Regions from separate parts of the Homo sapiens genome. Here region 2 is linked to region 1. Evidence: promoter capture Hi-C in human tissues and cell types (Jung and others, 2019). All regions are on one chromosome and are shown on one strand. The core of a region is centred on a gene start or on the middle of the fragment in contact, and the rest is flanking DNA. Distances in the headings are between cores, read along the strand shown.

The links. Contacts are between HindIII fragments. The study calls those that stand out against the background at their distance.
Region 2: a contact is called between a fragment that was not itself captured here and the fragment with the promoter of UBR1 in region 1, in 1 of the 25 tissues and cell types used here (aorta).

The regions. Positions count from the first base shown.
Region 1 is chr15:43,104,743-43,109,218 of GRCh38, forward strand. UBR1 (ubiquitin protein ligase E3 component n-recognin 1) reads right to left here and starts at 1,296. Exons shown (of 47, transcript NM_174916.3): 1 at 1,200-1,296. The coding sequence starts at 1,280. RefSeq lists an enhancer at 1,115-1,394. The HindIII fragment of the contact is 7,070 bases long and covers 1-3,339 here.
Region 2 is chr15:42,784,001-42,788,735 of GRCh38, forward strand. The region is part of intron 10 of TTBK2 (tau tubulin kinase 2); the gene reads right to left. Among named protein-coding and RNA genes, the nearest start is that of TTBK2-AS1, 47 kb to the left of the region's middle. The HindIII fragment of the contact is 4,613 bases long and covers 126-4,735 here.

The DNA.
Region 1 (4,476 bases), core at 46-2,545:
TAATCCCAGCACTTTGGGATGCCGAGGCAGGTGGATCACCTGAGGTCAGGAGTTCGAGATCAGCCTGGCCAACATGGTGAAACCCCGTCTCTAATAAAAATAAAAATAAAAAAAATTAGGCAAGCATGGTGGCAGGCACCTGTAATCCCAGCTACTCAAGAGGCTGAGGCAGGAGAATTCCTGAACTCGGGAATTTGCAGTTCAATTCCTGAACTCGGAAGGTTGCAGTGAGCCGAGATTACACCACTGCACTTCAGCCTGGGCAACAAGAGCAAAACTCTGCCTCAAAAAATAAATAAAATAAAATAATGTTTTTATTAAACTACAAGCCAAAGAAACTTCAGAAAAAATGTGTATATCCCAAATCTCTAAATGCTGCTATTTAGAAAGACAAACTAATAAAACATCATGCGGTGACAGATATTTGAATATTTTCTACATATCTCCACACTAGATGCCCTGGGCATCCAGAACATTCCCTAACATTGCCCCCTACTCTTATCTTCCTCGGCAGCTTTCTCCCTGTAGCTAGTGACTCAAATTTGTTCACTATCTGTGCCTTCCCATTCTTTCAAAATGCAAGAGCAAAGTATAGATTCCGACATCAATTAATGGTATTGCTCTGGCTTGAAATGTTTGGGAGTCCTTTCTTCACCTTTAAAAAGTAGCGACAGATGATGGGTTTCTCCACTGAGGGTTAGGCCTGGGGTTCCCAAGATGCTATACGCAAGGACAATTACTACACCTCACATCTAGACATGACTTGACAGTAGCAGCACTACCTACCAATATCAGGTCCCGGCCAGCAGGCTATGCAATAAAATACCAGGTGCTGCGTTCCCATCATCAAGAGTAAAGGGTTAGTACTGCTTCTATACGAAAATGGCTCTTGCTCCAACCCCGCCTCGGCCCCCACATCAAACCGTCTAATAACATCACTGGTTCTTTCTACTTCAGAATAGAGACATGCACACTTGAGATCATCAAGAATAATACATAACAAAGTCATTATATTCCGTAGACTTGGCTGGCAGAAATGTGGGTTGCGACTAACTTTTTATTCGGTGGCTTCCTTCCAGATCAATCCAGATAACTCCCCCTCCCCAGAGCCGCCATAAGGGGTGAAGCCCCACATCCTCCTAAGCGCAGTAGGGAGGGACCGGGGGGAGGACAAAAGAGACTTGCCTATAGGGACTTACAGATGCCAGACGCTGAGGGGTCTGGGGTAACTCCGCGCTGATTTCCATCCTCTCAGTACCTCCAGCCTCCTCGTCCGCCATCTTGAGGGAAACTGACGCCTGCAGTTGCCGACCCCCGGCCAGAGGCAAGCGGAAACCTGTGGCCGGTCGGAGAGACAGGGACGACACTTTTACGACGGCCCCTGAAGTCGGGTTTGACGCAGACTCGAGGAGTGGCTTCCGGCCCGCTTCCCGGAAGCAAGCGTCACGACGTGAAGGGACTGGAGATTTTTTTTTTCCCCTCTAATTTATCAGGCGTAGCTCTTGGTAGCTGAATGGTTGTATATCTGGGTTTGGTGCTGGGAACTGTTGCATCTACGAGGTAAAAAAAACAAAGTCAGCGTCCATTATGAAAGGAAGAAAACTTGTCGGGGGCTAAAGCAAGAACCTGTCCTAGCTGGCCGGTTGTTGGCCTGGGGATGTTTTGTATCCCAACCTCCCTGCAGTAGTTCCCCAGAGCCTACAAAATGAAAAAGAAAGTACTCACACATCTTCTATTTTTAGGATTCTACCCCGTGGGCACTTGCACATGTGTACAAAAAAAGCTCGGGATCCAGCTTTATTGGGGGACACGGGGGGAAATAACAAAAAATTGGAAACCTAGTCATTCATCGATAGAGGAAAGACAAGATATACTATGGTACATTCGCATTTTGAAATACTGTGCAGCTCTTGAGCAAGATAAATCTGCGTGAAAAGATCAAGATAAATTGAGAGAAAAAAAAGCCAAGTTGCTGCAAACTATATATTTGCACACATAGGCATTTAAATGTGAAGGAGTAAGTCTGAAAGGGGAAAGGGCAAAGTAGTAACTCTGAGGGCCAGGATTCGGATTGGAGGAAGAAGGTGGTCAAGAGCTACTTTACCTTCATTTGTATTTTAAATTTTTTACAAAACAAATAATTTTAAAGTATATTTTTAACAAAGGGAAGAAAATAAAGCTCCAAACAATGTGAAAAGTAGAGGAGGCTTTCCAAATGCTGTGGTCCACCTTGATTTATAGAACTTTCCTGCCTAAACAATGTTTCTGCTCAAATGAACTACTTCCTGGGTGCTAAAATACTGTTTTTCCAGCCTTTTTTGCCCAACAACCACAATAAATACATTTTACATCTTATCACGGTACACCTATACAAAATTAAATGGGTATATATAGAATATGTATATATATACTGAAACTTAAATTTTCTGAAACAATACTTCCAATATGTCATATTTTCTATTCAATTGCAATATGTTTATGCATTTAAGCCAAAATACTGGTTGTAGTTATTAAAGTGATACTATAACCCACAATAGGTATTGTCCCACATTTTGATAAAAATTGCCCTAAAAGTTACCTTGTCCCTTCCTGTCTCTATGCTTTTACTTCTGTAGTTCTCTTATGCTACCCCACGCTCTTCTCTTTTTCTTCTTTCATTCCTAGATAAATGAAATAGACTAGAACGTTCAGAAATAGGTCGGGGCAGTGGCTCACGCCTGTAATCCCAGCACTTTGGGAGGCCAAGGTGAGTGGATCACCTGAGGTCAGGAGTTCGAGACCAGCCTGGACAACACAGTGAAACCCCATGTCTATTAAAGATACAAAAATTAGCTGGGTGTGGTGGCAGGTGCCTGTAATCCCAGCTACTCAGGAGGCTGAGGCAGGAAAATTGCTTGAACCCAGGAGGTAGAGTTTGCAGTGAGCCAAGATCATGCCACTGGCACTCCAGCCTGGGCTACAAGAGCAAAACTCTGTCTCAAAAAAAAAAAAAAAGAAAAAGAAAAAACAGAAAATAAAAAGAAATAATAGCCACTTATCAACATCTTAATGTAATCAAAGCACTAGTATATTAATAACACTAGCTATATATTAATAACAATCCTTTAGGTAGATGTTACTACTTCTATTTTACTGTCATGAGAAACTGAGAAAACTGAAGTTTAGAGAAGTTACATAATTTGGTTAGGGACATGCAGCTTCCAAGTGACACAGCAGATATTCAGCCAGCACAATGGCTCACCCCTGTAATGTTAGCACTTTGGGAGGCCAAGGCGGGAGGATTACTTGAGCCCAGGAGTTTGAGATGGGCAACATAGCAAGACTCCCACCTCTACCAAAAAATAATAATAAATAAAATCCAGTTCAAATGACTCACAAGGCCCTATTCTTATCCATTTCACTTTATTACTTTATACCAAATTCAAGTATTTTACACATGAAAGATAACAGCATTTCAAGTGAGAAGGAAATTATGAACTGCTTATTTATTTATTTTTTCAGATGGAGTTTCGCTCTTGTTACCCAGGCTGGAGTGCAGTGGCGTGATCTCAGCTCACCACAACCTCCGCCTCCCGGGTTCAAGCAATTCCCCTGCTTCAGCCTCCCAAGTAGCTGGGATTACAGGCATGCACCACAATGCCTGGCTAATTTTGTATTTTTAGTAGACACGATGTCTCTCCATGTTGGTCAGGCTGGTCTCAAACTCCCGACCTCAGGTAATCCGCCCGCCTCGGCCTCCCAAAGTGCTGGGATTATAGGTGTGAGCCACCACGCCCAGCCGGACTGTTTATTAAGTGGTGCAAAAACAGATGGTTATGTAGCAGTTCCTCAAAAAACAAAATTAGACATAGAATTCCCATGTGATCCAGCAATTCCACTTCTGGGTATATATCCAAAAGAAGTGAAAGCAGGGTCTTGAACAGATGTTTGTATACCTGTGTTCATTGAAGCATTATTCAGTATAGTCAAATGGTGGCAGGAACCCAAGTGTCCATCAACAGCTGAGTGGATAAACAAAATGTGGCATATACATGCAATGGAATATTATTCAGCCTTTAAAGGGAAGGAAACTGTGACACATGCCACAGCATGGATGAACCTTACAGACATTAGGCTAAATAAAAGAAGCCAGTCACAAAAAGACAAATACTGTGTAATTTGACTTATAATACATACCTAGAGTAGTCAAATTCATAGACACAGAAAGTAGAATGGTGGTTTCCAGGGTCTGAGAGGAGGAGAGAATCGAGTTTAATGGATACGGAGTTTCATTTTGGAAAGATGAAAAAGTTTTGGAGATGTGTAGTGGTAATGGTTGCATAACAATATGAATATATCTAATGCCACTGAATGGTATACTTAAAAGTGGTTAAAATGGTAAATTTTACGTATATTTTACCACAATAAAAAAATTTAAAGAGGCCGGGCGTGGTGGCTCAAGCCTGTAATCCCAGCACTTTGGGAGGTCAAGGCCAG
Region 2 (4,735 bases), core at 1,182-3,681, 320 kb before region 1:
ACAGTGAGCCAAGATTGCGCCACTGCACTCCAGCCTGGGTGACAGAGCGAGACTCCAGCTCAAAAAACAAAACAAAACAAAAACAAAAGAAAAAGAAAAAAAAAACTTAGGTCATGCCAATCCTACGAAATAAAACTTTAAAATTTTGATCAATTAGAATTTTCAAGCTGATTTTAAAATACAAAATCTAAAACAATAACACCCTAATTTGACAATCACTTTAAAAGTAAAAAGCATTTCATCTATTTTCATAGAAGTCTCTGTCAATTATAACAACATTTTTTTTCTTTTTTTGAGACAGAGTTTCACTCTTGTCGCCCAGGCTGGAGTGCAGTGACGCGATCTCGGCTCACTGAAACCTCCACCTCTCGGATTCAAGCGATTCTCCTGCCTCAGCCTCCTGAGTAGCTGGGATTACAGGCGCCCACCACCACACTGGGCTATTTTTTGTATTTTTAGTAGAGACAGGGTTTCGCCATGTTGGGCAGGGTGGTCTCAAACTCCTGACCTCAGGTGATCTGCCTGCCTTGGCCTACCAAAGTGCTGGGATTACAGGTGTGAGCCACGGCACCCGGCGTGTTAGAGAATTTTTAAAAATTCTAAACAGGAAAATGTTAAGTGCTGTTGAACTCCAAATAAAATACAGAGATGAATCTCCAAATTAACATTCCATTTGGGAAGCAAGAATGACAATTTGGGGCACACACATAGACTGAGTGGGTCTCTGGTATATCTAAAGACCAAAGGAGAGGTTGGGGGTTTTATTAGAGAGATGTCATATACTGTTTTGAAAGAAAGTTCATTGGCATCAGAGAAGCTTTTGGGAGCTGGCAGGCTCTGACTGGTGAGTGACAGAGGTATGTAAATTTAGTCTTGGAGTCACAGCAGGCCATTTCAGCAGCTGGGCTTGTAAGAAATTAAATTCTTGGAGCAGGTGCTATGTGCCCCAAGTACTTTCTCCCTGGCCTCTTGATTGATTTAGTTGACTATGACAAGAATGACCTAATTTGTATAATCAACTTTCGCAGTGCCATAATGAAATAAACAGGTGTCAGATCAATCAGCTATGTTATTTTTTTACAGTGTGAAATGTGTATTACTTTTTCACTTGCAGATTTTTTTTTTTTTTTTTTTTTTGAGACAGAGTCAAGCTCTGTCTCTCAGGCTGGGGTGCAGTGGCATAATCTCTGCTCACTGCAACCTCCGCCCCCGGGGTTCAAGCGATTCTCCTGCCTCGGCCTCCCAAATAGCTAGGATTACAGGCATGCACCACCATGCCCAGCTAATTTTTTATATTTTTAGTAGAGATGGGGTTTTGCCATGTTGGCCAGGCTGGTCTCGAACTCCTGGCCCCAAGTGATCCACCCACCTTGGCCTCCCAAAGTGCTGGGATTACAGGTGTGAGCCATCGTGCCCGGCCACTTGCAGACTTTTTACTAAGCACCTACTACATGCAAGGCCCTAGCAACACAAAGAGGAAGGAAATTCTTGCCCTAGAGGGGAAACTAGACTTTCTGTAATTATACAGTTGATATAGTTCAGCATGAACTGACCTGGGGGAAAAAATAGCAAATATTAATTGGTATTTGTCTATATATTTCTTTCAAAGTAATTCCAGGTCTTATTTATATGGTTGGTCATCGCTCCCTTAGACCCTCCCATGAGAGGCTTTTCTAGTTCACAGTTTTCCTTCACCAAGTGAAAAGGCTCCTGCCAGTTCTGTAACTCTATATTCTAGGGTTTTTTTTTTTTTTTTTAAATATTGCTGACTGAACACAATACTTAGCACACAATGAAACCTCCTCTTAGAAGTGACCTGGAATGTCTCAAAGTAGAAAAATTAGTCTTCAGTACATTATACTGACTCCTGTAATTACTGTGAGTGGCAACATCCTCTCAGTGAGCCACTTTAAGGGTCACAGTTAGATCCTGGCACTGGTGTCACGAGTATTTCATATGCTCTGAGAAGACCAGTGATTTTTCAGGGACTTGTTCCACCTGACTTGGTAACCGATGACCTTCACCACTACCTTTGCCTAAATGGATCAATGCTAGAATGAACCTCTTTATCAACAATTTACAAGGATATAATCTAGAAAAGCACTGATAATGGCTCCCCGAAAAAAAAGAAAGAAAAAAAAAAAAACTTACAACCTAGTAAAGTAGTATCTGTAGTTCTGACAGTGGAAGCATATTTAAAAGGTAGTTTGGCCTAAAATAGTTCAAATAGTTCAAATCAATAGTTCAGATTTATTATAGAGATAATTAAAGATCAGAAATAAACTGGCTACTAACAGATTTTTCAGATATTAGTTCAATATAATTTATTTATTGATAAAAGAGTCATAATGGACACTAACATACATGTACTACATGGTAATCCAAATGTTTATTGAAAGAATTCCCTCTATTCCTGAGGAAAGAGAAAGGGAAATAGATGAATATTTGAACTCAAGAAGCTTAGTCTATTATCGTCACCTTTTTTCCATTTTAATCACTCAGTATTCTTTCAAGTCCCTTTTTCCCTTATGTCTAGCCACTATTCTGCTTTTTTTCCAACTACCTCAATTCCTTTGCATTTCCTTCTTTCACACCTCAGGAAACAAACCACACCTCCATCTCTGAATACACTTCTACTTTCATTCAATCCTACTTTTTCTCTTATCTCTTATGCTTCAATATGATACCACACACTCCAAGGACCTCGTCCATCTTCTCCACACAGGCTCTCTTTTATAGGACTCAGGTTCCTCTCCCACCCAGACCCTCCCTCTGCATTTATTCTCCATTCCTTTCTCCTTCCCTGGTTATTGTTTCTTTTCCTAAACTCTGATCCAAATCTTGAGTATGCAATATGGAAAGAAATAATTCCTTCCCAGGAAAATTATATCATGTTCAGGAATATGAATGAGTGAGAAAGTATACATAAGAGTGTTATTAGCACATGGTCTGTGTTTCCAGGCAAGGTATTATATAACTGAAGCAGATTAAGGGAATAAGTAAGAAAATGTGTGGAAGAACTGAAGAGATATGAGAAAAAATAGTAAGAACGAATATCCTTTTCATATTTCATTCCCCATAATCTAAGGCAAACTAGTGCTTGTGGGCCAAATCTGGCCTGCTTACCTATTTTTTTTTAATAGACTTATTGGAACACAGTCAGTCTCGTCTGTTTACACGTTGGCCATGGCAGCTTTTGCACTATAACAGCAATGACAGTAGTGACAGAGACAGCATAGCTCACAGATATTTATCTGACCCTTTATAGATAAAGCTTGCTGGCTCATGATTTAAAGCGTCCTCTTACCTTCTAAACTTTCATTCTCCCTCTACGAAGAAATTCAGGGTTCTGGGACATACACTATAAATTTTTCTCTTTAACACTGATTCTCCAGGTATTCTACCATATCATTTGCAAACAGAAAAAAATCAGAAGTTGGCAAACTTTTTCTTAGAGGGCAGACAGTAATGGTTAGGCCTGTGGGCAAGATTCACTGATGGATGCTACAATTAATAGGAAAAGTATGACAAGAAACACAGTGCTGACATAGTTGCAAATATCTTCCCACAAGATTATTTCTTACAAAGAGAAAAACAGTAACTTTATAGTAGAAAGAACTGGCCACTGTAACCAAATTGTCAACATAAGTATCATCAGTAATGAGACATACTGACATTATGTACCTCCTTGTTTAATGCCATAGGTTTTCCTCTGATCTTTGTTCTAAAGTTATCTCATAGATTCTGATAAGTAGTGTTTACATTATCATTTTTTTCTATAACTTTTAGTTTTTATTTTCCTTTTCACCCAAGAGTACAGTCATGTATCGCTTAACAACGGGGATACATTCTAACAAATGCCATCGTTAAGCAATTTCATCATTATCCAAATGATCACAGCGTACTTAAAAAAACTATATTGTATAGCCTATTACGTGCCTAGGCTATATGGTATAACCTATTGCTCCTAGGTTACAAACCTGTACAGCATGTCACTGTTCTGAATACTGGAGGCAAGTGTAACACAATGGTTAAGTATTTGGGTATTATAACATTATCTAAACATAGAAAAGGTAGAGTAAAACTACAGTATTGTAATCTTATAGGACCACTGTCATATATGCGGTGTATCACTGATTGCGATGTCATTACACGGCACATGACTGTAGTTTAATAGGTTCTTAAATTTCCAGTAAAAGGGCCTTTGATATTTTAATTTTGTTGGTAATTTCTAGTTTTCTTGCAGTGTGATCAGATAATGTAATACTTCTACTTTATGGAACTACTTACATGTTTGTTTGTGACCTAATACCTGATCAATTTTTGTGAATGTTCCAGGGGCCCCTGGGCAGGAGGTATAGTCTCTATCATCAAGGTATAGAGTTCAGAAAACATACATATGATCTACCTTACTACGATCACGCTGTTTAAGTCTTCTATCTTCCTATTCTCTGTTCACTTGATCTGTCTTAAACTGAGGGTGGTACATTAACATCTCCAACTATGAGTGTGTTTTTATGTCTCCTTGAATATCCTGCAGTTGTTGTTTCCCAAAGGTGAGTGTCATGATTCTGGTGACTAAATATTAATAAATTTTGTATCCCACTTGTGAATTGTGGCATTTGGCATTAAAAAGTGCCCTTCCATCTTTTCTAAGTTTTTTGTTTTGGCTTGAATTCTACATCATCTGTTATTAGGATCACTTCTCTTTTCTATCTTTCTGATATATCTTTGT